Regions from separate parts of the Homo sapiens genome. Here regions 2, 3 and 4 are each linked to region 1. The links are contacts of gene promoters, found by promoter capture Hi-C in blood cells and fetal thymus (Javierre and others, 2016). All regions are on one chromosome and are shown on one strand. Each heading gives the region's core, a stretch centred on a gene start or on the middle of the fragment in contact. The rest is flanking DNA. Distances are from core to core; before and after follow the strand shown. Region 1 holds the start of EIF3J (eukaryotic translation initiation factor 3 subunit J). Region 2 overlaps WDR76 (WD repeat domain 76). Region 3 overlaps FRMD5 (FERM domain containing 5). Region 4 overlaps FRMD5 (FERM domain containing 5).

Evidence for each region. Contacts are between HindIII fragments. The CHiCAGO score rates a contact against its expected background, and 5 or more counts as called.
Region 2: a fragment that was not itself captured here is called in contact with the fragment with the promoter of EIF3J in region 1 in 3 of 17 cell types (megakaryocytes, endothelial precursors and erythroblasts); the score reaches 5.7 in megakaryocytes.
Region 3: a fragment that was not itself captured here is called in contact with the fragment with the promoter of EIF3J in region 1 in 3 of 17 cell types (endothelial precursors, megakaryocytes and M1 macrophages); the score reaches 7.5 in endothelial precursors.
Region 4: a fragment that was not itself captured here is called in contact with the fragment with the promoter of EIF3J in region 1 in 1 of 17 cell types (endothelial precursors); the score reaches 6.4 in endothelial precursors.

The regions. Positions count from the first base shown.
Region 1 is chr15:44,531,999-44,539,732 of GRCh38, forward strand. EIF3J (eukaryotic translation initiation factor 3 subunit J) reads left to right here and starts at 5,149. Exons shown (of 8, transcript NM_003758.4): 1 at 5,149-5,239; 2 at 5,326-5,429. The coding sequence starts at 5,197. EIF3J-DT (EIF3J divergent transcript) reads right to left here and starts at 4,925. Exons shown (of 2, transcript NR_034170.1): 1 at 4,045-4,925; 2 at 2,507-3,476. RefSeq lists enhancers at 3,817-4,604, 4,292-4,741 and silencers at 4,912-5,081, 5,272-5,581, 5,602-5,651. The HindIII fragment of the contact is 7,095 bases long and covers 1-5,715 here.
Region 2 is chr15:43,840,217-43,847,950 of GRCh38, forward strand. WDR76 (WD repeat domain 76) reads left to right here. Exons shown (of 13, transcript NM_024908.4): 6 at 2,199-2,300; 7 at 2,412-2,455; 8 at 3,685-3,838. Among named protein-coding and RNA genes, the nearest start is that of WDR76, 17 kb to the left of the region's middle. The HindIII fragment of the contact is 2,674 bases long and covers 2,628-5,301 here.
Region 3 is chr15:43,865,932-43,873,665 of GRCh38, forward strand. It overlaps FRMD5 (FERM domain containing 5), which reads right to left. Exons shown (of 14, transcript NM_032892.5): 14 at 4,833-7,734. WDR76 (WD repeat domain 76) reads left to right here. Exons shown (of 13, transcript NM_024908.4): 13 at 197-2,481. The coding sequence ends at 461. Among named protein-coding and RNA genes, the nearest start is that of WDR76, 43 kb to the left of the region's middle. The HindIII fragment of the contact is 4,197 bases long and covers 2,632-6,828 here.
Region 4 is chr15:43,885,363-43,893,096 of GRCh38, forward strand. FRMD5 (FERM domain containing 5) reads right to left here. Exons shown (of 14, transcript NM_032892.5): 8 at 6,619-6,707; 9 at 3,447-3,510; 10 at 2,813-2,904; 11 at 319-393. Among named protein-coding and RNA genes, the nearest start is that of WDR76, 62 kb to the left of the region's middle. The HindIII fragment of the contact is 1,578 bases long and covers 1,797-3,374 here.

The sequences.
Region 1 (7,734 bases), core at 3,899-6,398:
TGTAATCCCTGCACTTTGGGAGGCTGAGGCGGGGGGATCACCTGAGGTTAGGAGTTCGAGACCAGCCTGGCCAACACGATGAAACCCATCTCTACTAAAACTACAAAAAATTATCTGGGCATGGTGGCACACACTTGTAATCCCAGCTGCTCAGGAGGCTGAGGCAGGAGAATCACTGGAACCTGGGAGGCAGAGGTTGCCGTGAGCAGAGATTGCGCCAGCCTGGGCAACGAGAGCAAAATGTCATCTCAAAAAAAAGAACCTATAAGTAGCTCTGCTTCATTTGTGTTGTTTATTTACTCTTCTATAGCTTCAATGATGAAACTTTTTTTTTTTTTTTGACATGAAGTCTCACTCTGTTACTTAGTCTGGAGTGCAGTGGCGGGATCTCAGCTCACTGCAACCTCCACCTCCTGGGTTCAAGTGATTCTCCTGCCTCAGCCTCCTGAGTAGCTGGTGGAACTCCTGAGTTCAGGTGATCCACCCGTCTCTGCCTCCCAAAGTGCTCGGATGACAGGCATAAGCCACTGCACCCAGCCATGAGGAAACTTTTTTTGAGACGGGCTGGCTCTGTCATCCAGGCTGGAGTGCAGTGGCACGATCATGGCTCACTGCAACCTCAACCTCCCAGGCTCAAGTGGCCCTCCCACTTCAGCCCCCTGAGTAGCAGGAACTACAGGTGTGTGCCACCATGCCCAGCTAATTTTTTATTTTTTGTAGAGATGGAGTCTTGCCATGTTGCCCAGGCTGGTCTTGAAATGAGCTCAAGTGATCCTCCTGCCTCAGCCTTCCTAAGTGCCGGCATTTTAGATGTGAGCCACTGTGCCTGGCCTGGAACTTCCTGACAGAAGTTTTAATGTTAATTTGTTAAGAAACATTGATTACCTAGTCTGCTCATCTGTAAAATGGGAATACTGTCACTGTCTTTGTGATTATAGAGCTCCCCTAGAGACTAACCTGTGAATCACAAGTTTTTTTGTGTGTTTGTTTTGAGACAGAGACTCGCTCTGTTGCCCAGGCTGGGTGCAGTGGCATGATCTTGGCTCACTGCAACCTCTGCCTCCTGGGTTCAAGCGATTCTCCTGCCTCAGCCTTCCAAATAGCTGGGATTACAGGAGTGCACCACCACATCCGGCTATTTTTTTGTATTTTTAGTAGAGACGGGGGTATCACCAGGTTGGCCAGCCTGGTCTTGGAACTCCTGACTTCAGGTGATCCACCTGCCTCAGCCACCCAAAGTGCTGGGATTACAGGTGTGAGCCACCACGCCTGGCACAAGTTTTACAGACTAAAGGAAGTCCCTAATACATAGGTCTAGAACCTTGTTTTCCTGTTTCCTCATTTGAAAAAGCAGTATGCACACCACTATAAATAAATTCTCAATTTCTGCTTTGAAAACAATGCTGCATACACATAGCCCATGAATTTTTCCATAGCACCTTCAACCCACATGCCCCAGTTTTTTTTTTTTTTTCTTTTCTTTTTTTTTTTTTTGATAGAGTGTCATCCAGGCTGGAGTGCAGTGGCACAATCTCAGCTCACTACAACCTCTGCCTCCTGGGTTCAAACCATTGTCCTGCCTCAACCTCCCAAGTAGCTGGAATTATAGGCATGAGCCACTATACCTGGCTAATTTTTGTATTTTTAGTAGAGACAGGTTTCACCATGTCCAGGCTAGTCTCGAACTACTGACCTCAAGTGATCCACCCACCTCGGCCTCCCAAAGTGCTGGGATTACAGGCATGAGCCACCGCGCCCAGCCTTCTTCTTTTTTTTTGAGAGGGAGTTTCGCTCGTCGCCCAGGCTAAAGTGCAATGGCGCGATCTTAGCTCACTGCAACTTCTGCCTCCCGGTTCAAGTGATTCTCCTGCCTCATCTTCCCGAGTAGCTGGTATTACGGTGCCCGCCAACATGCCCAGCTAATTTTTTTTTTATTTTTAGTAGAGATGGGGTTTGCCACATTGGCCAGGCTGGTCTTGAACTCCTGACCTCAGGTGATCCGCCCGCCTCAGCCTCCTAAAGTGCTGGGATTACAGGCGTGAGCCACTGTGCCCAGCATTTTTTTTTGTTGTTTGTTTTCAGATGGAGTCTCTCCCAGGCTGGAGTGGAGTAGCACAATCTCGGCTCACTGCAACCTCTGTTTCCTGGGTTCAAGCAATTTTCCTGCTTTAGCCTCCTGAGGAGCTGGGGTTACAGGCATGTGCCACCACGCCCGGCTAATTTTTGTATTTTTAGTGGTCTTGGGGTTTCATCATGTTGGCCAGGCTGGTCTTGAATTACTTCAAATGATCTGCCTGCCTCAGCCTCCCTAAGTGCTGGGATTACAGGCGTGAGCCCGTAATAGGCGTGCCTAACCAGTTTTCAGGTTTTTGACTTAAGCAACTAGATAAGTGTCACTCAATATCCAAAGGCATCGTCTATCTATTTCTCCCTTCCCCTCCTCCTTCATATCTAGTCAGACACTATATTAGTACGGGTTCTCCAGAGAAACAGAATCAATAGGATGTGTATATGCAGAAAGAGATTTATTTTAAGGAATTGGCTCACATTATTCTGGGAGCTGGCAAGTCTGAAATCTGCAGGGCAGACAAACAGCCTGGAGACCCAGGGAGATTTGACGCTGCAGTCTGGAGGCTGAATTGCTTCTTCTTAAGGGTCTCGTTTTAATTTGAACTGACCGGATGCGGCCCACCCTCATTATAGAGGGTAATGTACTTTAATCAAAGTCTGCTGATTTAAATGTTAATCACATCTAACAAATACAATTCATAGCAACAACTAGACTAGTGTTTGACCAAAAACTGAGTAACATGGGTAGCATCGCCTAGCCAAGTTGATAGATAAAATTAACCATTAAAGTCACTAAGTTCCATTGACAATGACCTTTAAATATTTCTCAAGTTGGTTTCTTCTTCTCCATTGCCATTGCCTTAATTTAGGCTTGTGTTCTCGTTTAATTAATTCATAAAATACTTACGTATTAGGCATTATGCCAAATGTTGGAGATACAATTGTGAGTAAGATTGTGTCCTTAGGGACTTACATTCCACCCTTTTCCTGACTTCTTTCTTGCCTCCTTCCAATCCACATTTTTTTTTTTTTTTGGTCTTGTCACTTTGATGCCCAGGCTGGAGTGTAGTGGCCAGAACGTGGCTCACTGCAGCCTCAACTGCCTCAGCTTCCTGAGTAGCTGGGACCACAGGACCACAGGTGCACACCACTATGCCTGGATATATATATTTTTTTGTAAAGATGGGGTCTCACCATGTTGGCCAGGTTGGTCTCGAACTCCTGGGCTCAAGCGATCCTCCCGCTTTGGCCTCCCACAGTGCCGGGATTACAGACGTTGAGCCACCGTGTCCGGCCCTGATCCACCTTTATAAATGGCTGTCTGTAGATCATGGCCTCTCACATTTTAACTGGGCTGTAGAATATGTATTGAAGGATCATCTTTATAAAATGTTTATTTGTAGACTCTGAAAAGATAACACCAGAAAGGGGGAACAATGGTTACCACTAGAAAGAACGGAGCGGAGCAGCTGATCGTTGTATCTACCTTTTTTGTTTTTTTTTTTTTTTTGAGACGGGTCTAACTGTCGCCCAGGCTGGAGAGCCGTGGCGCGATCTCGGCTCACTGTTGCAACCTCCGCCTCCCGGGTTCAAGCGATTCTCCTGCCTCAGCCTCCCTAGTAGTGGGGATTACAGGCGCCCGCCACCACGCCCAGGTGATTTTTGTATTTTTAGTAGAGGTGGGGTTTTACCATGTTGGCCAGGCTGGTCTCGAACTCCTGACAGCAAATGATCCGCCCATCTCGGCCTCCCAAAATGCTGGGATTACAGGCGTGAGCCACCGCGTCCTGCCCACGTATCTACCTTTTTATCACATGAATGTTGTACCAAGTTCGCGTATTACATATTTGAAAATAAATTGCGAAAATAACAAAAACAAAATCCATCTACTGGCTAGCTCTTTAAAATCCTGCGGGGGAGCCCAGTGGCCCAACGGCGAAGTTTAGCCCATCTTGCCCTTTCTGGTCAGTGTACCTGTTCCATTTATCTCTGACTGCGCCACTCAGTCAGGTGAGGGACCACTGGAGTTTTCTACCGGAAATGCACTTCAGCAAATGCCACTTGCTCTCTCCAACTTCAGTTTCAACCAGCGCCTACCTCAGGAAGCCTTCCTTCATCCTCCGGCCCCCGCCGCCGCTAAGGTTATCCTTTTACATTCAACCTCATAATGCTGCTTTTTGTGGCAGTCATCACAGTGTCGAAATTTGTTTACATGTCCATCTTTGCTACTTGATGGAGGGCAAAGATACACCTCATACCTAGCATAGACCCCAGGAGGTCCGAAATTGTTCTGCGAAAGAAAAAAAAATCAATGTGCTGGCCTCAAAGGGGCTCACAGGAAGGGAAAAGCCTCGAAGACTAAGGCTCTCTTCGATTCCTTCGTGACTAACTCGAGGCAAACATGCCAGGAACGCGGCTCTCCCCACCCGCTCCTGCATCTGCGCCCGGGGATCGCCGGATTCCAGAGGGGTCCCCTCCACCTAGCGCGCGACGACTCCCTCTGGGGTCCCGGAAGCCCGGCCACCGACCCCACAGGCGGGCGTGGCCTCAGAGCCCTCTTCTGAGCACGGCGTGGGTATCCGCAGGCGGCCATGGACGGTGATCACAGTGACCAGAGGGACAGCGCACCCTCCGGTCGAAGCGGGGTAGGCGTTGGCAGGGGAGGGGCGACGAAGACTGGCGAGGTTCAGGCGCCAGCCAAAGAACCACTCTGCTAACTTCCTGGCACTTACGTTTCCTACCCGGGGCCCAGAGTCGGGCGGCGGTCTTCCAGCACCACGAACTCCAGTACTGGTCTGCGTTGTAGGGAGCTGGAAGCCCGACCCAGCACTCCTCAGCCCCCTGTGCCCCTCCCTCTGCTCTTTCCGCCCCTCCCTCCGCCCCCCTCCGCCCCCCCCTCCGCCTCTCCCTCAGCCCCGCAGCGCCACCGACCGCGTTCCCCGCCCACTTCTTACCCGCGCGCGTCGCCGCCGCCGCCTGAGGGGGCGTGGCCTCGGCTCGGCGCACAGTCAGCCACGGTCCCATCCTGCTCCGCGCCGGTCAACGAGAGCAAACCCAGTGACTCACCTCCGCCGTGCTAACTCCTCGCTAGCTCTCCCTCTCACACACGCTCACACCCGGCTCGAGATGGCGGCGGCGGCGGCGGCGGCGGGGGACTCGGACTCCTGGGGTGAGGAGAAGTTGCTGGGGCAGGGCCCGGGCCGGCGCCGGCCCCACGCAGTGGCAGGCACTAACACGGCTCGCTTTCTTCCGTAGACGCCGACGCTTTCTCCGTGGAAGACCCAGTGCGGAAGGTGGGGGGCGGCGGCACTGCCGGCGGGGACCGCTGGGAAGGCGAGGACGAGGACGAGGACGTCAAGGTGGGTGCGGGCTAGGGCGCCGGGCAGCGCGGAAGCGGGCTGGCGCTGTTGCCGGCCGACTCTGGGCCCCGGGTCGCTGCCGGGGCCTGCGGGCCGTGGGTCCAGGCGCGAGCATAGGGCCTGGCGGTGCTCTCTTCCCCTCCGCTTGCCGGCCATGTGTGGGCCGAAGACTGGCAGCGTGGCCTCCCGGACTCCCTCGCCGGTTGAGAGTCTGCTCTCCGGCGTGGATCCCACCCGCCGGCTGGCGACGAAAGGTGACAGCATCGGCCGGGTCGGCCCACGTGCAAGCTTCGCGGTCCGGAGCCTCTCGCAGGAATGAGACCGGGAAGTTGGGAATTGAGCCTTGTAGCTTATCCATATGGAAAGCCTTGAGACTCGCCTGTCTTTTCGAGCTCAAGTCAGCCCAGGGCCAGTAACTCATTTATGACCCTGAGGTCTACTTATACAGTTTGTTCGAGGGATTAGATGAGTGAAATATTGTAGTTGAATTTCAACCTTTTTTTCCCACACGAGACAGCTAGAAACAGTAAAGGGAAATAACTTTTGGCTCTCCCTTCCCCCACCCTGTGGTAAAAAGAATGAACTGACCACTGAGATAGCCCGCAGTTAGTGGACAGAAACCCAGGTAGTTCACACCGTGACCTGAGAAATGGAGAGACGACAGTTACTCAACTACACACATACGACACCTAAGGAAATATTGAAGATTTGGTGGTGGTTGTAGATGACGGGCCCGTGGTTTTTTGTTGTTGTTGTTGTTTTGTCTGTGCCTTGTAGATAATCATTTTTACCTCAGTCGTTTGATTTTGAAAACTCCGAAGGGTTCATTATACAGCTGTAAGTGACATTTACTTCTACATGGTTTTTTTTTTTTTTTACAGTAGTTACAGAAGTCTCAAATCCAAAATGTTAAGACTCTTATTAACAAAGTTCTCAAAATCTTGTTATATTTGTGCAGATAAAGTTTTGTGTGAAATGGAAAATGATTTTTTTTTGTGGTTTTGCCTAATTTAGTGAATTTCTCCTAATTTATAAACACAAACGGAGAACCCTATAAATCCTGCCTGGGCTGAAAAGTTTAAGCTAGATAATCACTATGAACTTAATAGGAATGTTGTTTTGAGTTTTTCTGTTCTCTCCCCAGTCCGATGAGGTTGGATGTGTGGATGTCCGATTTACTGACAGCCTGAGGTTCAAGAATGTTGTGAGCTTTGCACACATTGAAGTTAATAAATCGACTGGTTATTGTTTGAAGACACTCAGATGCTTTATTTACATGTTGTAGAAACATGGGACTAGATTTTGTTACCAGCCGCATTACAAGATATTAGTTACCCCTCTACATTGTAGCAGATTTTCAGTTTTGAGCCTTGGGTTCATATTGGTCCTTTCATTTTTTTCCATGCATATAGGAAGTGGCAGTTAAGACATCTGTTATGAAATTTGGGAATAAATTAACAAATGCAGAGAAAAGATTAGAGATATTAGGAAAGAAGTTGCAGAAAATGAAGTTTTAATGGATAGTCTAGACTAATGTCATGGAATAACTTCCTTGGGATTAAGGGATCTAAATGGTATCGATCTTGATGAATATAATTCTTTTTTTTTTTTTTTTTGAGATGGAGTTTCGCTCTTGTTGCCCAGGCTGGAGTGCAATGGCGCGATCTTGGCTCACTGCAACCTCCACCTCCTGGGTTCAAGTGATTCTCCTGCTTCAGCCTCCCAAGTAGCTGGGATTACAGGCACGCACCACCACGCCTGGCTAATTTTGTATTTTTAGTAGAGACGGGGTTTCGCCATGTTGCCCAGGCTGGTCTTGAACTTCTGACCTCAGGTGATTCTCCTGCCTTAGCCTCCCAAAGTGCTGGAATTATAGGCGTGAGCTACCGTACCCAGCCTCTGATGAATATAATTCTGATCACTTGGAACAAGTTTTGGATATTTACAAGTTGTAAGGGACCACAAAGATTATCTTGTCCAGTTGCTCTTTTTTTTTTGGAAATGGAGTCTCGCTCTGTCACCCAGGCTGGAGTGCAGTGGCACAATCTCCGCTCACTGCAAGCTCCGCCTCCCAGGTTCACTCCATTCTCCTGCCTCAGCCTCCCGAGGACTACAGGTGCCCACCACCACGCCCGGCTAATTTTTTCTATTTTTAGTAGAGACGGGGTTTCACCGTGTTAGCCAGGATGGTCTCAATCTCCTGACCTTGTGATCTGCCCGCCTTGGCCTCCCAAAGTGCTGGGATTACAGGCGTGAGCCACCACACCCGGCCCCAGTTGCTGTTTTAGTGCTAAATTTCTTTTTC
Region 2 (7,734 bases), core at 2,715-5,214, 690 kb before region 1:
ATTTCTGCAGGACTTACCTGCTTAGGATTGTGGGTGAGTTAATTAACCTTTCTGATTGTTTCTCCATTAAAAAAAAGTCAGCAATAATAGAACCCTCAGTAAATATGTACAATTTTATGTCAGTTTAAAAAAAAAACCTCAAAGAGCTACTGTAAAGATAAATGAAATCATATCTATAAAGTTTCTCACATATTAGGGGCTTAGTAATCAATAGAATATAGTTATTAATGTTAATAAATACGTGATAATGTGTAGTTTTAGTGAGTAGAGTTTTATTTAGCAAACATTTTCTAAATATTTTTTATTCAAGAACACCTATTTTTAATACTTTATATGTAAGTGTTTAATTGTAAATAGGAAGATAGCACTAATTAGGCTGGTGTTTTGGGAGCAAATTGCAAATCTAGGTGTTATGGGAAGCAGCATAGAAGAGTAGCTTCAAATTTTTTTGAAGCCTCAGCCCACAAGAAATATATTTGTGGCCAGGTGTAGTGGTTCATGCCTGTAATCCCAGCACTTTGGGAGGCTGAGGCAGGAGGATCGCTTGAACCCAGAAGTTTGAGACCAGCCTAGGCAACATCAAGAGACCCTGTTCTTACAAAAAAAATACAAAAATCAGCTGGGTGTGGTGGCATGTGCCTGTAGTCCCAGCTCCTCAGGAGGCTGAGGTGGGAGCATCACTTGAGACGTTAATTTAAAAATATATATATATATTTATTTACATTGTAACTATCACACATATATGCAACTGAAACCACAGTTTGTCAAACGACACTTAATACATGTGGTGCACTTTGGTATTTCTTTTTTTTTTTTCTTTCTGAGACAGAGTCTCCCTCTGTCACCCAGGCTGGAGTGCAGTGGCACAATCTCAGTTCACTGCAACCTCCGCCTCCCGGGTTCAAGTGATTCTCATGCCTGAGCCTCCAGAGTAGCTGGGACTGTAGGTGTGTGCTACCACGCCTGGCTAAGTTTTGTTTTTTTGTTTTTTTTTTTTTTTTTTTGAGACGGAGTCTCAATCTGTTGCCCAGGCTGGAGTGCGGTGCTGTGATTTTGGCTCACTGTAAGCTCTGCATCCCAGGTTCATGCCATTCTCCTGGCTCAGCCTCCGCTGGGACTATAGGCACCTGCCACCACGCCCGGCTAATTTTTTTGTATTTTTAGTAGAGATGGGGTTTCACTGCGTTAGCCAGGATGGTCTCAATCTGACCTCATGATCTGCCCGCCTCGGCCTCCCAAAATGCTAGGATTACAGGTATGAGCCACCGCACCCGGCCCACGCATGGCTAATTTTTGTATTTTTAGTAGAAATGGGGTTTCGCCATGTTGGCCAGGCTGGTCTGGAACTTCTGGCCTCAAGCTATTTGCCTGCCTCAGCCTCCCAAAGTGCAGGGATCACAGGTGTGAGCCATGTACCTGGCCTGGTATTTCTATTCTATTCTCATTCACTACAACAAATTGCTAGTTGTGACATACTAACATGATTTCTCACCCACTAATTGGTTACAAACTGTTTAAAAAAATACTGATGTAGGTATAATACTGAGTAATGAGTTAAGATAATCTGAGTCAATTCTCAGCTTCTCCAGTTATTGGCTGTGTGACTTTGGGCAAGTTAACTCCTCTTAAGTTTCTGGGGTTTTTTTGTTTTTGTTTTTTGTTTTTTTTTGAGATGGAGTCTTGCCCTGTCACCCAGGCTGGAGTGCAATAGTGCAGTCTTGGCTCACTGCAACCTCCAACACCTGGGTTCACACGATTCTCCTGCCTCAGCCTCCTGAGCTGCTGGGATTACAGGTGCCTGCCACCACGCCCAGCAAATTTTTGTATTTTTAGTAGAGATGGGATTTCACCATATTGGCCAGGCTGGTCTCGAACTCCTGACCTTGTGATCCGCCTGCCTCGGCCTGCCAAAGTGCTGGGATTACAGTCTCTAAGTTTCAATCCACTGTCTTTAAAATGTGATACCTCATTTGCTAGGTTGTTGAGAGGATTAAATGAGATAATACATGTTATTATTACTTTATAGGGTACCTGGCATTCATTTATTGAACAATTATTTTGAATGTCCATGATATGCCACCATTACTGTTGATGTTGAAAGTGAAGTTGTGGGGAAAACAGACAAATACCCTTGCCCTCCTTGTGTTTATATTCTAGGGCAGGGAGCCCAACAAATAACTTTTTATTTTTTATAACAGCCTTTGTTACCTCCTGGGCCTTTAGAAATGACTTCTGAAAATCAAGAAGACAACAATGAACGATTTAAAGGATTTCTGCACACATGGGCAGGAATGAGCAAGGTATCACTTGGGAAGGCCAATAGCCTTTAGAATCATCTGTTAAGGAAATATATATATATGTAAAAATATATACATACTAACTTAGTTCTTTCATCTCTCCCAATGTTTCAGCCAAGTAGTAAGAACACTGAGAAGGGATTATCTAGCATTAAAAGGTAAGTTGAAATTCCTTGTGTTTCTTTTATATTTTTTGAGATGTTTGAGTTATAAAGACTATACGCCATTTTAGGGAATTTTGAAAGTGAGATGAAATGTTTCCACCCTAACAACTGTTGTTTTTGTGTATTTCCTCACAAGTGTTGCCATATACAATACCACTAGGATATAAGCTTCATATACAATACCACTAGGATATAAGCAAGAATTCTATTTCAATAACCAGAACAGTGCCTGGCACATAATATATGTTCAGTGTTGAATAAATGAGTGAATCCACATACATTTTTACTATATGTTGTAATGTATATACAATTTTGCATTACACTTTTTTCTTTTTCTTTTTTTTTTTTTTTTTTTTTGTTTTTTGAGACAAGGTCTCCCTCTATCGCTTAGGCTGCAGTGCAGTGGCACTATCTTGGCTCATTGCAACCTTCGCTTCCTGGGCTCAAATGATCCTCCCACCTCAGCCTCCCAAGTAGCTTGGACTACAGGCGTGCACCATCACATCTCACTAATTTTTGTATTTGTAGAGATGAGATTTTGCTGTGTTGCCCAGGTTGGTCTTGAATACCTGGGCTCAAGTGAGCTGTCTGCCTTGGACTCCCAAAGTGCTGGGATTACAGGTGTGAGCCAGTGTGCCTGGCCTGCGTTATGTTTTTTTTCATTTGCGGTTGCATGTTACTAGAGTCTTTAAAATTATTGAATAATTATAAAATATTCCATTGAGTAGAAGGAGTTCACTTCTCCTCCTACCTGCTTGGTATTTGCGGTTGTTTTCCATTTAGCTTTGTGTGTTTGTGTATGTGTTTGTTGAAGTATATGGATATGATAGTGGATTATTTCTTTAGGTTAGATTTCCAGAAGTGAGATTAATGCATCAAATATTGTGAACATTTTTATGGCTTTTAGTACACATTGCCGAATTGTTGCTCAAAGGTCTTTTTTTTTCTTCTGAACATTTTATATGAACTTACTCTTCCACTAGCAATATGTGTGAGTATGTGTATTTAACTGCAGCCTACCAGCTTTTGGTGTTATTAAAATTATCAAGGGTAATTTAAAAAGTGAAAGAATATTGCTTAATTTGATTTCCTTGGTTACCAGGAGATTGAATAGTTCCCATATTTATTTGCTAATTGTGATTTTTCTTTTTGAATAATCTTTTACTTATTTTGACTATTGAGATTGGTTTTACTTACAAAATTTAACTTTGTAATTTTCTTAGCTACAAAGCCAATTTAAATGGCATGGTCATTAGTGAAGATACCGTTTACAAAGTTACCACAGGCCCAATATTCTCTATGGCTCTCCATCCATCAGAAACTAGAACTTTGGTAGCAGTTGGGGCCAAATTTGGGCAAGTTGGACTTTGTGATTTGGTAAGTTATTAAATTTCTTGAATATATTATAGTTTGACTAAAGCAAATAGGCTGGAAGAGAATAGGCTAGAGCCATGTGTTTATAAATGTTGCGTGAGACTTACAATTTTGGGCTTTATGATGCTTTATGATTCCAAATTTTAGAAATCTGGAAGAATTTAAATTTGCTTTATAGAACTTTAATATTTTTAGCTTGAATATCATTAACCATCTGGTCATAAATTAACTGCCAGAAAACTTTGTTACACTTTGTGTGATCTTTTCACATATACATTTAAAGTGGCCGGGTGCGGTGGGTCACGCCTGTAATGCCAGCACTTTGAGAGGCTGAGGCGGTCGGATCACCTGAGGTCAGGAGTTCGAGACCAGCCTGGCCAACATGGTGAAACCCCGTCTGTAGTAAAAAAATACAAAAATTAGCTGGGCGTGGTGGTAGGTGCCTGTAATCCCAGCTACTCAGGAGGCTGAGGCAGGAGAATTGCTTGAACCCAGGAGACGGAGGTTGGAGTGAGTCGACACTGTGCCATCCAGCCTGGGTGATAGAGTAAGACTCCGTCTCAAAAAAAAAAAAAGGGCTGGGAGCGGTGGCTCACGCCTGTAATCCCAGCACTTTGGGAGGCCGAGGCGGGTGGATCACGAAGTCAGGAGATCGAGACCGTCCTGGCTAACACAGTGAAACCGCGTCTCTACTAAAAAACCCCATCGCTACTAAAAATGGAACAAATTAGCTAGGCGTGGTGGCAGGTGCCTGTAGTCCCAGCTACTCGGGAGGCTGAAGCAGGAGAATGGCGTGAACCTGGGAGGGGGAGCTTGCAGTGAGCCGAGATCGCACCACTGCACTCCAGCCTGGGCGACAGAGCGAGACTCTGTGTAAAAAAAAAAAAAAAAAAAAAAAAAAAGATCAAAGTTTAGTTTTCTTTTTTTGGAGAGGGAGTCTTGCTCTGTCGCCCAGGCTGGAGTGCAGTGGTGTGATCTCGGCTCACTGCAAGCTCCGCCTCTCAGGTTCACGCCATTCTCTTGCCTCAACCTCCCGAGTAGCTGGGACTACAGGCGCCTGCCACCATGCCTGGCTAATTTTTTCTATTTTTAGTAGAGGTGGGGTTTCCCCATGGTCTTGATCTCCTGACCTCGTGATCTGCCTGCCTTGGCCTCCCAAAGTGCTGGGATTACAGGCATGAGCCACGGCGCCCAGCCCGAAGTTTAGTTTTCTAGTTGTGTTTAAAATATGGTCTGCTATGGTCTGAATGTTTTTGTCTTCCCCAAAATTCATATGTTGAAATACTAATCCCTATGGTATTAGGAGGTAGGACCTTTGGGAGGTGATTAGGTCATGAATAAGATTAGTGCCCTTATAAAAGAAACCCAGGAGAGACCACTGTCCCTTCTACCATATGAGGACACAGCTAGAAGGCACCAACTATGAACCAGAAAGTAGGCCCTTACCAGACACTGAATGAACTGGAAGCTTGATCTTGGTCTTCCTAGTCACCAGGACTGTGAGAAATAAAATGCTGCTGTTGATAAGCCACTCAGTTTATGGTATGTTGTTTTAGCATCCCAAATGGACTAAGAAACAGTTTCTAAGCTGTATCAAAATATCTTCCCAGGGACCTGCTTTGGAATGATTTTAGTTATCTTTGATGAGTCAGAAATAGATACTGAATTCCATTCATTGTGCATATAATTCTGCATGAAATACTGTCTGTTATTACAAAATTGAGAAAAGTCAAGTTAATGTTCTCTGAATTTATTTTCTTATTGGGGAAGAAGACCAAAGACATGAAAAATGCCATAAGGACAATTAATGAAGGTGAAGAAATAGTGGTGACTTGAAGTTGGTTGGGGTTTATAAACAAAATTTGCAAGTTTGAAGACAGAAACCAAGTTCTTATTTTGGGATCATAGATTCTCCCTTATTTTGATAAGATGTGAGTGGGGATAGGAGGTGATAGGATTTAGCAAAGAAAACTGAAGCAAAAAAGTGGGAAGAAGATCAGAATAGTATGTTTTGGAAGCCAAGAGATGAGTTTCAAGGATGGGAGGTTGACAGAGCCTTTTGCAGAGAAGTTAAAAGAATGGAGAAAAGGCCATTGATTTTGAAAATAGGGTACCATGTAGTGAGTTGAGAGAATAGCTTTGACAATGAGGTAAGTAAGGAACAAAGGCTTTAGGAGATTAAGGAAGTATGGGGGTAATGAAAGAACTGGAGAAGCATTGGATAGAGACTTTTTTTTTTTTTTCCCGCCCCTGAGATACGGTCCCACTCTGTTGCCCAGGCTGGAGTGCAGTGGCATGATCATAGCTCACTGCAGCCTCAACTTCCCACGGTCAAGCAATTCTCCACCTCAGCTTCCTGCGTAGCTGGGACTACGGTCATGTGCCACCACACCTGGCTAATTTTTTAACTTTTTGTAGAGATGGGTCTCACTATGTTGCCTAGGCTCATCTCAAACTCCTGAGCTCAAGCACTCCACCTGCTTCAGCCTCCCAAAGTGCTGGGATTACAGGTGTGAGCCACCACACCCATCTGAGACTACTTTTTGAAGAATTTTGCAAAGGAAAAATTGAAAATTAGCATGATTAAATGAAGGTTTTTTTTTGGATGAGTTGATCTGTATAGATTTAAGACATACATAAAAATCCTTTTTTCATATCTTTCATGATGACTCCAAAAATCTGTATTACAGCCGGACGCGGTGGCTCACACCTGTGATCCCAGCACTTTGGGATGCCAAGGTTTGGCGGATCACCTGAGGTCTGGAGTTCAAGACCAGCCTGAACAACATGATGAAATCCCATCTCTACTAAAGATACAAAATTAGCCGGGCATGGTGGCACATGCCTGTAATCCCAGCTACTTGGGAGGCTGAGGCAGGAGATTTGCTTGAACACAGGAGACGGAGGTTGCAGTGAGCCGAGATGGCGCCATTGCACTCCAGCCTGGGAAACAAGAGCAAAACACCACCTCAAAAAAAAAAAAAAAAAAAAAAAATCTGTATTACTAGGTCTCTGTAGTCCAGTATCTCCATCAACCTAATTTTCCAGGACATTTGGCAATCTCATTAACAGATTTAACAAGTCTAAAAGCAATATTACCTTGTCTATCCTGTGCTCACAATTTCCCCAGTTTTTTTAAAAAATGGCTTCATTGAGGTAATAATTTACCTATCATAAAATCCTATTTAAAAAATGTAAAATTCAATGCTTTTTTTTCTTTTTTTTTGAGATGGGAATCTTGCTCTGTCACCCAGGCTGGAGTGCTGTGGTGTGATCCTGGCTCACTGCAATCTCTGCCTCCTGGGTTCAGGTGATTCTCGTGCCTCAGCCTCCTGAGTAGCTGGGATTATAGGCGCTCGCTGCCACACCTGGCTAATTTTTTTTTTTTTGAGACGAGTCTTGCTCTGTTGCCCAGGCTGGCATGCAGTGGCGTGATCTCTGCTCACTGCAGCCTCCGCCTCCTGGGTTCAAGCAGTTCTCTGCCTCAGCCTCCCAAGTGGCTGGGATTACAGGCGTCCGCTACCACACCTGGCTAATTTTTTTGTTTTTTTAGTAGAGATGGGGTTTCACCATCTTGGCCAGGCTGGTCTTGAACTCCTGACCTTGTAATCCACCCGCCTCGGCCTCCCAAAGTGCTGGGTTTACACGAATGAGTCACCGTGCCCAGCCTAATTTTTGTATTTTTTGTAGAGATGAGGCTTCTCCATGTTGGCCAGGCTGATCTGGAACTCCTGACCTCAAGTGATTTTCACCTGCTTCGGCCTCCCAGAGCTGCGATTACAGGCGTGAGCCACTGCACCTGGCCTCAGTGGTTTTTAATAAGTTTACTTAGTTGTTTAATTATCATAGTCTGGTTTTAGAACATTTTCATCATCCCTATAAGATCCCTCATGCTGGCT
Region 3 (7,734 bases), core at 3,480-5,979, 670 kb before region 1:
ATGAGGAGGATATCGTCTCTGTCCAGAGGTTCAGTCCTGTAAGGATGAGGTAAGGTTGGTGGTAACTCAGTAACTTAATGAGAAGAAACTTGGCAGAGAAAACTAGCATTTAGGAGCAATGCCGTCTTTACCCTCTGCCCAATGCTACCTTATTTAACCTTACTTCATTTAAAAAATATATTGTTTTCCTCACTAGGCACAACACTTTCACTGGGCGATGGCTGACCAGGTTCCAAGCCATGTGGGATCCTAAACAAGAAGACTGTGTCATAGTTGGCAGCATGGCCCATCCACGACGGGTAGAAATCTTCCATGAGACAGGAAAGAGGGTGCATTCGTTTGGTGGAGAATACCTTGTCTCTGTGTGTTCCATCAATGCCATGCACCCAACTCGGTATATTTTGGCTGGAGGTAATTCCAGCGGGAAGATACATGTTTTTATGAATGAAAAAAGCTGCTGAGTTTTTGGTTTAGGAACATCAATTTGTTCAAATTGACCACTGTCTAAGGAGCCTAGTAATCGGCGTGCCTTAGTGTGTTTATGTGGTAATGTGTTACATTTAGCAATTATAACATTGTTTTATTAATAAGACTATAAGAAGAGTGTACTTTTAGTAAGGGAGAAGTCTTGGAGGGTTGCTTCTGCAGGACGGGGAGGGAATTTGAGGGGAGGCTGAGGTGCCGTCAGGACTTTTTTTTTTTTTTTTTTTTTGAGATGGAGTTTTGCTCTTGTTGCCCAGGCTGGAGTGCAATAGCGCGATCTTGGCTCACCGCAACCTCCGCCTCCCAGGTTCAAGCGATTCTCCTGCCTCAGACTCCTAAGTAGCTGGGATTACAGGCACCTGCCACCACGCCTGGCTATTTTTTTGTATTTTTAGTAGAGATGGGGTTTCATCATGTTGGCCAGGCTGGTCTCGAGCTCCTGACCTCAGGTGATCTGCCCGCCTCGGCCTCCAAAAGTGCTGGAATTACAGGCGTGAGCCACCATGCCTGGCCATCAGAACTTGTAATCAAGACAGTATGTTGAGAAATTCTAACATTATAAATTACAAAGCTTTGACTATTAAAGTTTTTGTGATCTAATGATACAGTTTTGATTCTATAGTAATTTGTGGCTTATTTTATAGTTTATAATGAATACTTATTTCTAGACTCATACACTGGAAGGGGACCCGGAAAGGTAATGTAACTCAGTGATTTTAAAACTTGATTTTTTTAACTGAGAACTTTTTTTGCCCCCTGCCTGTAGGTTAAGTCTTACGTGAAATGCCAAGATAATTGCTGAGCAGCTTTGGTTACCCAGGGCGGGGTCTGGGTCTGTCTGTACTTTGCCTTTACTCTAGATGGCTCCTGAGACACAGGCAGGACTCCCAAGCACCGGGTTGGGATCTGCCCTGGTCCCGGCATTCCAGTATAAGATTGCCTCAGACCTGTGTTTTTCAGACTGGGTTTTTGCTCTTCACATGAAATCAAGTTAGATGACAATGACTGGTGTTGAAAAAAATGAAAAGGAAAGAATTTGTAAAGAACAGAAAATATATTTGAGTAAGTATTGTTTGGTAAAACTTAGTTACATATGCATATATATTTGTTAGGTATATATGTTTATGTGTATTCTGATGTAAAATATATATATATATATATTTTATTACTATAGTACCATGGGTAATGGATAAAGAAGTTAAAGCTACTGCTTAGAATGAAGAAGGCCCCAGGCTTACCTGTCCCGATCTTTAAACTGTCCGAAGGAAATTCAATAGCCTGTTAAGTGAATACCTTCATTCTTACTTGTATTTGGGGGAATATTATGAAATACTCACCACTTTTGGTATTTTATGAAAATGTTTTCTTTTCAGAAGTTATGGTAATTTCAATGTGTTTGTTGTTGGGAGGGGAGCTGCCAAATCAGTTACTAATATTACTGTGTGACATCTATCCAACTTTTTTCATTATTCTTCATTGCCAAATACTGAAAGACTTGTAAATGGCTTTGGCAATATGTTTGAATTCTAAGAGGAAATATTTTCCCATAATTGTATATCAGAGAAATATAGTGATATACAATTTCCTTGAAAACCAATTTCTAAATAATTTTCTTCTCTGTAATCTAAGTGTAAAAAGGTTTAGTTTTTTAATAGGTTTAGGTGTTTATAAGCAATAGTTCTCTATTTTCTAGTTGATATAAGTAGAAGAATTGACAAGTGAGATGGAAATGTTAATTTATAAAGGGAAAGAAAAGCTAGGTGAGGTTGAGTTATAATTAAACTGTTCAGGAAACATCGTAAAGGCTTTAGGCTCCCTTTTTCATTTCTATACCAATTAATCTCATGGGTTCTAGAGTGGTTAGTTCTACGGGAATTGTTTTTGTTTTTGTTTTTAAAGATGCTGAAAACTACTCTCAATCAAATTAGTACCATCATTTAAGCTTTGAATACTTGGCAGTAATTGCCTGGGCTCGTCAATAAATGTTAGCAAATTCTTGATGTTCCTCACTTTTGTGGTTTCTTTTGCCATTGTGGCTTCATAAACAGTGCTATTTATATTCAGTTATACTTTATAGAGTTATATCTTCAGGCAGTGCAGGAAGGAAGGAGAATGAGTAGGGACTTTTTTTTTTTTTTATTGGTGATAAGCTTTCTAATGGAGTAATTGTTTAAATCTAGACAGCACATAAAAGAAAATTGTCTCCCTTGGGACATTCTTACACTGTAATCTGTAGTGAAAGGTACTTCTCCCACAGACTTGCCTACAGCTGTGTGGCTTCTGTAATTATGTGTGTATTATGATTGCCTCCTTCGGGATAAGCCTTTTCTGTAAGTTTGGCCTTTATGATATCTCTTAAGCTCTGAATTCCGCTTGAGTTTTTTTTTTTTTTTTTTTTTAAGATACCCAGGCTTTTGTTATGTAACTTTTAAGGAAGGAGCAGACAATTCTCATTTTTGGTTGTCAGAGACTTTGTCAGACTAGGAGAGACCACAAATGATTAGGAATTAATAGAATCTGAGTTGCTTAAGTCCTATTTTAGTATTCTGGTCTTTGAGCTTCCTTTCCACCAAGAAGATTTTGCAAGGGGAGTTCTCCAGGAAAACAGGGAGCCTTAGGGCTATGGATACAAGGATTTAAATCCTTTCAGCTAATGTACAGTACATGGGGTAGGGTGGGGGAGAAGACACACATGCCTTCTGAATCAATCTGAGAAGAGGAAATATATGCCCTCTAACTTCAGATTCCAAAAACTTCAATGTCCTATTGGGCGGTCCTTTCTGACTTAGTACATTTCCCCCTGCTTTTTAGTAGGGTGTTGATGGCTAGAAATAACAAGACAGCAGATTGTATTTTGACTTATTTGGCTGTAAATACTTGGATTTTCAAATGAAAAGGTAGAATTTATGAGGAAGATAACATTTAGTACACTTACACGGAGCTGAAGAACAAAACATTTTATGATACATTTTCCCCAAAATGGAAACTGGGCAAGAGGAAATTTATTAAAAGGGTGCTTTGCTTGTTTTACTCCATTCCATCAGCAGGTCGTAGGGGTCTGAAGAGGAAGCCTGTTCATGAGCTAAAACCAAAAGTGTGTTCAGGTGCAGAGGAGCTAGATTGTGCTAGAGGAACCCAAAGCAGAGGGAGTAGGGACTAGAGTCCTACAGGGGTGTGTGCACAGGTAGTTCTTGATAAGCTGTCAGCAGAAGGGAGGCTGCTGTGAATCGGCAGGGCCACGGGAAGCCACCCAGGTCCAGTGTTTCTTGTGCTTTTTACTCTTTGGATCACTTCAAGCAAAATCTTATGTCATAAAAACAAAAAATTCCGCTGGGGATAGGGTGCTAGATAGCATTTTTTAGGTAGTGGGTACCTCTGAAATTTGGAGGTAACATAGCCTGATTGGTGTTTAGGAGGATGATCTGGCAACAGAAATGGGAGAGTGGAGGGCAGGCAGAATTGAAAAGACAAAGATTAGGTAAGAAGCTAGCACAGTGGACCAAGCCCCCATTATCACCTCTTATCCTCATGGAATTTAGAAGACCATTTCCAATTCCGTAGCCACAGAGTGATGGTTACATAATCAGATGAGATAATGCTATAGGGATATATTTTGTAAATATGTGGTGGTGGTATCATTGTAGTTCCTTCTTAGAAAGTATTTTCTGTGCTCCCACTTACTCCAGGCTTGAGTAAGAACAGCAGACCAGAAGGTGGACAATCTGGGTTCTAGTTTGGACTCTACCACTATGTAATCTTGGGAAAATCACTTAGTCTTCTTGGTTTTCCTCATCAGAAAAATACCCAATTCACTTTAAAATTATTACATATATAGCTTCTCAGTTTTTTTTTTTTTTTTTTTTTTTGATGTGGAGTCTTGCTCTGTCACCCAGGCTGGAGTGTAGTGGTGTGATCTCAGCTCACTGCAACCTCCGCCTCCCAGGTTCAAGCGATTCTCCTACCTTAGCCTCCTGAGTAGCTGGAATTATAGGCGCCCGCCACCACACCTGGCTAATTTTTGTATTTTTAGTAGAGACGGGGGTTTCACCACGTTGGTCGGGCTGGTCTTGAACTCCTGACCTCGTGATCCTCCCGACTTGGCCTCCCAAAGGGCTGGGATTACAGGCGTGAGCCACTGTGCCTGGCCGCTTCTCAGTTTCTAACAGTATTTATCTGGGGGTAAGGACAAGGATAATAGGTGGATACAAGCAAAATAATTATGTTATATGATCCAAGTGAATAGTAGTCAGCTGTGTAAATCCCACCAGTATCCTTTTATCTATGTGTTAGTAACTTTAAGGGAGGAAAAGTAAGACAGGCTATTATTAAAGAAAGAGCCCACTCTTCCATGATATTTAAATATTTATTTAAGTTTAAAAATAATCTTCATGGCACCAATGATTTTATGCTAACTACATACTGCATATGTAGAAAAAAGTACATTGCTTTGAAGGAAAATGTAACTTAAGAGTTTTTGGCACACAGAAGGTTAACAACTATATATTTTTAAATGTATCTAAGAAATTCACATTTGCAGGTAGTTTACCCTCTACTGCTTAAAGATGCAGTATGCTATTCTTTAGTAAGAGTTTTATTTCCTGATAGATGAAGCTATGAAAACCATTGCTTTTTCTACAATGAGATAAACTAATTTTGAGAGAAAATGAGAGACATGTTAGAACACAGTATAACCAGGTTAAAAACTTGAACAATTTTTAAAGGTGGAGATATACCAAAAAAGACTAGTCACCAATCAAAGGAGGTTTATTATTCAAGCACTATTTGAAAAGCAAACTGAAGGAAACTTTTCTATCCATATTTTCTGGGATGAGCCCTGGAAAAAAACAACCCTAAAGTTTCTGTTTACAGAGCAAAATTTAGCTGTTAGAAATGGCATAGACTACTGTACTGTTAGAACTCTAGACACAAGGAACATACTAGGATATGGAATACTGCATCTGTCTCTAATGTGAATATGAAAGGTCAGAGTTGAGGCTATCACTCACTGCATAGAAACACCAGATTCTACAAACTGAGGTAGGAGCACTACACTAAAAGGTAATCTTCTATGTTGCATAAGACAGTAGATACCAGGTGGACACCAGCCCCCTGTCTCCTGACAGCCTTTTCATCTCTGGGTCTACTTTTCACGTTAGTCCTGTGCTAAATAAAGCCTTTGCTATGTAGATGACAAGTGGCAGTGGCTAGTTGATTTTAACTGACCCCTAATCTCTACTAGGATCTCCTTCGGTTTGTATTGTCACTCGATAAATAGATGTTTATAATTCTGCCTAAATTGTTGCTGGTATGAAAATGGTCAGAGAAGCCCTCTTCCCTTCTTAGATTCCAGCTGTGTTTTAGCATTCCAGTATTTGATCTTGCCCATTTGGCATCAGACATCTCTTTGCTGGTTAGTTGTTCAAGCACCCTTTAAACAAGCAACCCTAGTGCCTCCACTGGGAAGAGGTCCCAGATCTTTGATACATGTCAGGCATGGAAACAGAGCTGACTGACCCTCTTCTGCTAACATACTGGTAAGGATCAGTTTTATTGTCTAGAGCAGGATTGGCGTATTATGGCCTGTAGGCTAAATTCAGCTCACTGTTTTCATAAAGTTTTATTGGAACACAGCCATGTTCCTTCATTTACAAATTATCTGTGGCTGTTTTTGTGCTGTGATGGCAGAATTGAGCAGTTGTGACACAGTATGGCGTGCTAAACCAAAATATTTACTGTGTAGCACTTGACATAAGTTGATTGACCTCTGGTCCAGATGAAAGGATGTCTTTAAAATTATGCAAATCTCTCCCTAAGAACCCCAATTATTCCACAGTTGTCATATTGTAAACATGGACATGGTTCTACCATCTCGGGGGACAAAATAGGGGAGGTCAAGTCTACAAGTGACTTGTTCTGTTCTGCGTTTGGGGCTGTCCAATTAGGGTATCAGCAGCTGCTCTACTTTTGTGTGGGTCCAGGAATATGTCCATTGACCACCCTTAAATAAGCCCTCAAGCCCCAGATGACTTAGAAATCTCTCCCTGAGATGAAAACAGGATCTTGTGTGTGATTGGTTTTAGAGTTGAAGAGCTTGGGCCTAGGATCCCACACTCGCCCTTCATATGCCTGTGCTGCGTGCTTCGAGGACTTCCCTCTGCAAGGATGGTGATGCTTTCCTAGAACTTATGCAGAGGATGACCCTAGGGGGCAGCATTTCTACATCTAAGTGTTGGTCTCTGCCACGGTCACATTCTGTGTTTTGTAGGCATCTCTTAGAAATCTATTTTAAAAGATTCTTTTCCTGGTCCCTTCTAAGGCTGTTGATCTTGGAATTCTATTTTCTGAAGCTTTTCATTCTCAGGATCAGTTTCTTTCTTGCATCGTTTAGTTCATCAGGCTCTATTTTCTTAATCCATAAAGTAAAAACAAAATATGAATTGTTAAGAAAATAACATTTCGTTGTTAAAATATAAATTGAAATAGTCTTTGGGTCAAGGGGGTGTATATAAAATAAGCACTGCTATCCAAATCTCAACAGTCTCTCAGGTAACTTAACTCTGCTTTCTCTTAACTACACTTTGTCCAACATTTCTGACAGAACTATCTATCTCTGGTACCACTGAATTCGTTTAACGCCCCTGGAGCACTATAAAAGTCTTGAGGTTCTTCGGAAAAAAAAAATCACGTTAAGTCTAGTTTCATTATACAAAACTATGGTGATGCCCACTAGGCTCTAGACTAAGGGGACAGACTTACCCCACCCCTGATGCTGCTGTTGCTGTAGCGGTGGTCCCTTCAGATGCCCACTCTGCTCAGATTTGAAAAAACAAAAGGAAAAGAAAATCCAACTCAGACCATCATAAGAAGCAACTTTCCATTTAATCATTCTACATGGATGTTTACTTTTTTAAAAGTTCTGGCTGGCAAAAAAAACAAACAAAAAACTAAACAGTCCCCATTGTCCAGATCCCTGGCCTGCCCTGCTGAGGCTGCAGTGATGAGTCTACTGGAACCCAGTGGCACCAGCAGGAAAAGCTCCTGCAGAATACAGAGGACAGCAGCTCTCTAGTTTTCAACTAGTGTCCCCTCTGCTAGGTGATACTACTGCAATAATCAGTAATAGTAAAATAAATTATTTTTATTTGATACTTCAAAATAATATACATCTATGAAAAATCAAAATTCAAAACCAAAAATTATCCTGCAAATTGGAAAGATGAGAAACAGAGTCGCTGAGCCTTTCTTGAAATA
Region 4 (7,734 bases), core at 1,336-3,835, 650 kb before region 1:
ATGGGGTTTCATCATGTTGCCCAGGCTGATTTCAAACTCCTGGCCTCAAGTGATCCACCTGCCTCAGCCTCCCAGAGTGCTGGGATTATAGGCATGAGCCACTATGGCCGGCCAATATACATTTAAAACCCTACAGACAAATTGCTGTAGGGAAGGAAGGAAATAGTAAAAGGGTCATAAGATGGGAGAATTAGATGGAGACCTCAGACTTTTCTGAGTCCTCCCTGGTTTCTCTGTTCTAAAGGATAAGGACCACTGAGTTCTCCAGAGAAGGGTCTGAAAATAGATCCATAATGGTTACTTACTGTCACTATTTACCTGTATCGGAACCGGCTCCCTTTAAAGAATAAATTGCTGCTGGACACTGTGCGGACTTGGCTTGACTTCTCCAGCCTGTAGCAAGGCAAAGTCCAGTGTGATAGACAGCCTGAACTGCCTCACACAGGTTAAGGCAGCACATCCCCAGCTTCTTCCAAAGGCTACTTGAAACTTCAGGAAAAAAGCCCTTCATAGTCCACATTTGTCTCTGACTCTCATTTAGGATCTGGGGGCTGTGCTCACAGCCAGCTGCTCTCCTGCCTCAGTGCCCAGGACTGTCAACATGGAAACCCATTTTAGTGTCAGGAGAGTGAAGGCTCCCCCAAAATGCTTCATAGGTTTTACCAGGGGGACTGAGAGAATACATGCTCGGGTGGATGGTCTTGGGGAATAATAGAATGCCCATCTAATCTCAGCCACGTCACTTATTAGCAGTGTGACCTCGGGCAAATTTCCTTCTCTCTTAGCCTCACCCTTTTTATAAAATGATAGAGCTGGGACTACTGGACCTTAGGGGTCTCCTTTCCAGTCCCAGTATTTGATTTTGTGTCTATGTCTGGGTAATTGTGGGTGGAGAAGAGGGTGGGGGCTGTCTTTCCTGTTCCATCTCCCTTTTGGAGGGTCCTAAAATACATGACCACAGTAAAGACAGAAATCCTGCGATGAAGAAACTAGCTTAACTTTAATAAAAGTCCGTCATGTATTTGAATTTGGAGCCTTTCTCCCTCCCCCAGGATATCTATTTTATATCTCGTTTGAAGCTGCAGACAGCCGATGTGGAGCTCTGTAATACTTTCTCCTGGGTGACTTCACTGAGCCCATTAGCTCTCTCAGCTTGGGCACAGCAGCTCAGAGAGAAGCCTCCTAAGATGGGATCCACCTGTAACATGCCCAGGTGCCTATGGTACTGATCCAACCAGTAACCTATGTGAGTCTGAAACCTGTGCTATGAGCAGTGAGTAGGAGCTGTTTCCACAATCCATGAACAGTTCTTGGGAGACACCATCCCTGCCCGTCTCAGGGCTCCAGGACATCCGAGCTGCTTACTGGAGCCTGGGCATGTTCTTGCATCTGACTGGGCTCCTGCCATGGCACTAGGCCAAAGGCAGGACTAGGGATCTGTATGTGAGAGACACTGAGGGCAAGGCCAAAGCGCTGCTGCCAGAGACTTGACATACCTGGGGATCTCACCCAGGCTTTTACCGTTTGATGAGAACATTAAGGAGGCAATGGAAAACTGAAAAATGACCTCCATTTCCAGTGTGGGTGCAGGCAGGGCTGGGTGGGTAGGGAGATCTACTCGTGGGAAGACTCAGAAACTGAGTGAGGTCACAGGTTCAGAAGCAACACTTCTGTTTCCGTGACACAGATGGGAAAACCAAGCCCTTAAGAAATGCTGCTGAAGGCATGAAAAGACAAGAGGCAAGGAGATTGCTTCTGTTTGCTTCTTCTCTACCCTTTGGTAGAGAGAAAGGGAAAGCTTCCACATATGCCATTCCCAGGGCAGGGATAGTTCAGTGTGGAGCAGGCCCCTGTCGGCTAGTGCCTTCCTCTCTCTGCTGCGGAGACCCGTGGGACCCCAGTTCTTGGGCTGCTCCTCAGTCCCACAGGCAGGAGCTTGCATCTCAAGTTGCTTCTCTCTAGGTTCAGGTAACTGGCCAAACCTGGATTACATCCTCACAGGCAAAGGGAGGGTGGTAGCAAAAGAAAATAAATGTTTTCTTGACTTTCTATGGACAGTAGGGACTGAACAGGAGGGAAGTGTGACCATGCCAAAGTCTCCCGAGTATATTCAGGAGAAGAAAGGCTGCCGATTCAGTGAATCCTTGGTTCTGGTATAAACACATAATGGGAATTAAGTAATTCAGAATGCCTGTCTAAGAAACAGCTTCTGGGGCTGTGGCCCTGGCAACTGGGAGGACCCAGTTCTGCCAGCCAGCATCCCATAGCAGCCAGCAGGCAGCAGAATCTTCCCTGGAGAGAAGTATGGTGCCACTCATCCCAGAGCAGTTCTCATCTCTCCAGGATCCTTCAGGTTACTGGAACTGGGACCTGGCCAATCAGGGGCATTTGGTGAGAGCAGGGCTCACCCCAGGTAGAATATACCACACTCTGTCTTGCCTTGACCTCATTCAGATACATCTTAGTAAAGCATAAATCATTACGGTATATTTTTAAAACAAGACCAAAGGGCTTAGTGAGACATATTTTACCTGGCATCATGCCCTCAGTGGGCCATTTCTTCACTACCTAATGCTTTTATAACCACTTTCTTAACCGAAGAAAACAACACAAAAGCCCCACATTCTTTACAAAATCCCTTTGGTAGGCAAAGCTCTTGCCTTTGGCCTCAACCTGGCTTCTCAGTAACTGTCAAGCTCTTGCCCACTTCCAGCTACCCCGCCCCAAGTTCCTGGGCACTTGGCCTCCTGTCACCGACTCTCTCTGACTCTGGCTCTAAGAAAGACAGTCCCCATCACATGTATCCACTCACTTGTAGAAGGCTTGGTTCTCGATTCCACATTTCCAGAGGTGCTTACACGCTTCAGGAGTTGGAGCAAAATATGTAAGAATAATTTTCTTTTCCTGCAAAAAATTCCACATTGATATGGCTGAGTGTGGATGGAGAAGCAAAGGGTGAAGTAGGCGAGGACCCTGACCCCAGAGCTGTTAGAGGCCCTGGCAGCTGGCTAGTTAGAGGGGAGGGCCTGTGGGACCCACTGAGGCAGAGCTCAGTTAAGTGCATCACATCATACTTGGCAAGTCCAATCAGGGTAAGTCTCAGCTGGCACAAAAGTGGCACAAATTGAACCAGGAGAGCTCTTGGTGAGAAAGTTGCCCTTGCCTCTGGAATTCCCATATACACGAAAGAAAAAGAGCCTTCCTTTGCATTTCCTGGAGGTAAAGATCTCTTGAGTGGAAGCTCTGGGTGTCAATAGCATCCCTGAGGAAGTCCTGTGCTCCAGGGCCTTCCCGCTCCTTCATATTGTACCTCCAGGTCCTGACCTTGGTCTTGGCTTAGTATGTGGGTAGCTTGGCTCTACTGGGGTCCCTCAAGCTTGGCTCTGGCCACCAGGAAGCATCCCATCACCCCAGCCCTCCTTGAAGAGAAGGAAGCCAGCACTCACCTCTTTCTGACTTACGTATAAATAGAAAGTCTTTCCTTCAAATTTCAGCTTGGTCACCTCATTCCTAGAAGCACAAAGATAGTGCCTGTCACCTCATTGTGGGCTGCTTGTTCACAGCTAAATCTTGTAGATGCACAGCCCACCCCAACTGGAAGGGGCTCCAGGCACAGACACAATTTTAGCCAAAATCAGAACTGAAACAAGACAGCAGCGCAGTGGCCTTAGAGAATGTTGTTGAAACAGTTCAATCCACAGTTTTCTGGTCAATCACACTATAGTAATAGGGTGACAGGAGGATTTCGGGCTTATCAACAGTGGCTGTAAAAGGGAAACATTTGCATGGAAAGTGAGTCTAGGTAGAGTATCTGGGGTCATTTCAGGATTGGGTTCATAACACAGGTGCATTATCTGGATGGGACTGTCAAACGTAAGATGCCACAGGTAGCTGATGAGGCCAAAGTTCAAGATACAGCAAATAATGAGAAACAATGCAACCAGGTTCTGAGGGAGTTGAGTCTTTCAGGTGACTGTGCCACTGGATGGAAAATGCAGTTTAATGCAGACAAATATCAAACAATCTCAGGGAGCGGGGCAGGGCAACATACCAAAGAGAGAGAACAGATTACATGGAACAGTCATGCAGCGTACTGACCAGGAAAGGGGCTTAGGGGTTATTGTAGAAAAATCCTTGAAGCCACCAGCCCAGTGAATGGCTGCAGTAAAAGAGGCAAACAGGATACTGGGGTACATCACCCGTGGGACAGACACAAATCAGAAGAAGTGACATGGTTACTGTACATGGCACGGCCTAGACCTCACCTCCACATCCACCTCCTGCTCTCAGCCTTGGTTACATTTGCAAAACGGAAAAACTACTGGGTCTTAGGTGAATGTCCCTGAGAGCCATGGAACTAGGCCTCAGCACTGGTTGCTCCTCACTTCCCTTCTATCTGCCCAACATAGCTGCCCTCTGGAGTCTCTCAGCCCTCTCCATGTCACTGGAGGCCCCATTTTTCAACCCAACTGGGACCCCCAAGGCGGTCTTGTCATGCACATTCACCTCCACTTGGCTGCTGCTTTTTTTTGTAATTTCTAAGGAGATTTCCTTCATCTCCTAGGAAATAGTAGAAAGGTAGCGAGAATCATGTACCCAACTTACTGCTGGAAAAAGTTCAGGGGACAGAGGAAAATCACTTGTTCTCCATGCTCCTGAAAATCATGGCTGGGTCAGGATGAGATTTCACAACTTCTGACCACCAGTTCTGAGCTAACACAAGTCACACGGTATTCCTTCCCTGTTTGATTCCCTCTCAAACTCCCTCTCAATCAACCATCAATCTCATACACACACAGTACAATAATGCCAATTGGTTAATATATAGACAAGCACACAGATCACCTAGGTTCCAACAAGCAAGCTAGGAAAGTAAGGAGTTTTATTTTGAGAGTGAGATTGGGTTTACATCTATTATTACAGAGTTGACACATGGTGAAGAGGAGACTTCTAGAAGAAGTGGTGCATGAGAGAAGCCGTGGAAAGAAAAGTGTCTGTGAGAACCAAGAGCCATCATGGTTTCTGGAAGGGTGGGTATAATTTAGGGACTGCAGGTGTCTGTGACAGGTGTGTCCTACTTGTTTCTAGCCAAACATTCCCTCTAACAGGGACCTCACCCAACAGCTACTCTGGTTGGAATGTGGATCTGGGCCCTCTAAAGAATATCAAATAGCCCAGATGTATCCAGGCAGCAGAGACCCCACACTAGGAGGGCTGAGGCCTGATCCTGCTCATTGCCTTTTTCTGAAAAGCATTTTGTTGGACAGGAGATTGCAAATCCTCACATCTTCACCCAGAGAGCACAGTGAAGTGGGCCGACTTGAGGATGCCTAGGAAACAGGTATGTTGGGGTGTATTCTGGTAACTCCAGGGCAGCAGCTGCCTTGTGGCACGGCTGTTGTCCTGGGGAGTCGAGTTTCCTGTCCTGTGTGAGGAGCAGTTTCACCAGCACTCTGGCTGACGATCGTAATGCCCTCCTTCACAAAATCAAGGTGGGCTGGAAAGGCGGTATCTGTCCTCAAGCTCAAACTCAGTGGGGGAGCTGAAGAGGGCACAGCGGGATAGATGGTCTGCAGTGTCCCCAGCAGAACGCTGACTAGGAAGCAACTGTACTCAAGATTCCTCATGAGCTCTCCTGGAGAAGACAAACCAAACAGACTTCCCCCCACTGAGCTCTGCTGGACCAAGGGAAGCCACTTATCTAAGCCCCTAGAAGGAGCTGGCCAGCTTAGACTTGGCAGTCTGAGGCCCAGGAAGGTACAGAAATCACAAGAGCTTAGTAGAATATGCAAAATGTTTTGATGACGCTGACAGATGTTTGTATGGGCTGGCCAGCTAAAGGGTCTCCAGGAAAGCCAAATGTCAATCAACAAACCAGAGTCTGCCCAGAGGCATGCAGCAGAACAGACCCCAAATAAAACAGAGAGGGGCAGGAGAGGAAGCAGCTCAGAGTAGCTGCAGCTGAGGCAGTGGCTCTTGCCTGTTAGATGGGAGTGGAGAAGGGAGGGAAGGAAGAAAGAGTGGGAATATGACTCCTGGAAGCTGAGGACACTTAAATGCCCAAGAGGGATAGGAGTGAGACAGCAGCAACTGAGCTTTTGCAGACACGATGCCCACAGGGAGGGCTGGTCTGAGGAGGGTGTTTTGCCAAAGTAGCAAAGGACTTATATCTGCCCCAGAGGTCACTGTCTGTGAGCCCCTCCCTTGTTAGTAGAGCAGGTAAGGGCACTAAGCCATCCACAGAGATGCTCCAGAACAGCCGGCTCAACAGGGCTAACTATGACCCTCAGTGGGTGACGGCCCCAAGGATTCAGTTCTCACAGGAACTTTGCTCCGCTAACACTGGCTCCAGCCCCAGGCCTCTCACCCTCCCCAGAAATCAAACCTCTGTATCCCTTTTCCTTTCTGGAGAGGCTGTTGGCTCTCAGGGACACCCCTTTAGAAGAAAAGGATCCCTAGGAAGAGACCACTCCCTTCGTCAGTTACCACCATCAACGCAAGGCTTTGGAGAGGGCTCTGAACCAGAACTGCCCAATCACAGACAAAGGACACGGGAACCGTCGCCCCTCCCCAGTTGGTGAGATATAAAGAGCCTATTTTGGAAATGAAGATGCTCACCATTTAATGAAGTGGACCCTCTTGTTTCCTTGAAGAACAACAAACCCAAAAGGAGTGAAGGCCAGAAATGCAGCATTTCCTGACACGTCCTGCAACACAGAAAGACTTCTCATCGGGTGATGCAGGCACAGAGGTGAAAGGGTAAGAAACACAGCTGTTCATAGGTGATGCAGGGTTAATACTTGGCAGTAGGTCACAGAGGGAAAAGCATATCATCTGGAATCACAAGACCATAGTTTGAGTCTCAGCCTTGCCACTTGCCAGCCGCATGACTACAGGCAAGTTACTTGCTGAGCCTCAGTGTCCTGATCTGTAAGTTGTAGGTTATAATGATACCAACCTTAGAAGGTTGCTGTGAACATCCAAAGAGAATGGCAACACCTCATGCATTGCTGATGGGGTTGTTAAATGGTACAGTCACTTTGAGAAAGAGTTTGAAAGTCATTTAAATTGTTAAAAATAGAGTTACCATATGACCCAGCAATTCCACTCCTCAGTATGTGCTCAGAGATTTAAAAATGCATGTCCACACAGAAACTGGTACATGTATGTTAATAGCAGCAGTATGTGTTAAGAGCTAAACAGCAGAAACAACCCAATCCATTTTCCAGTGTAAAGTTTCCATTAACTGATAAATGAATAAACAAGTAGTATCATGATACAGTAGAATCTTATTCACCGGTAAAAAGGGATGAAGGACTGATAGACGCTACAACACAGGCGAACCTTGAAAACATTATGCCAAGTGAAAGAAGCCAGTCACAAAAAATCAGGTTGTGATCTTTTAACCCTGTGAATATACTAAAAACCACTGAATTGTACACTTTAAAAGGGCACATATCGCCAGGAGCAGTGGCTCGTGCTTATAATCCCAGCACTTTGGGAGGCCGAGGCAGGTGGATCATCTGAGGTCAGGAGTTCGAGACCAGCCTGGCCAACATGGTGAAACCCCATCTCTACTAAAAAGACAAACATTAGCCAGGCGTGGTGATGCGTGCCTGTAATCCCAGCTACTCAGGAGGCTGAGACAGGAGAATTGCTTGAACCCAGGAGGTGGAGGTTGCAGTGAGCCAAGATTGTACCACCACACTCCAGCCTGGGTGACGGAGTGAGACT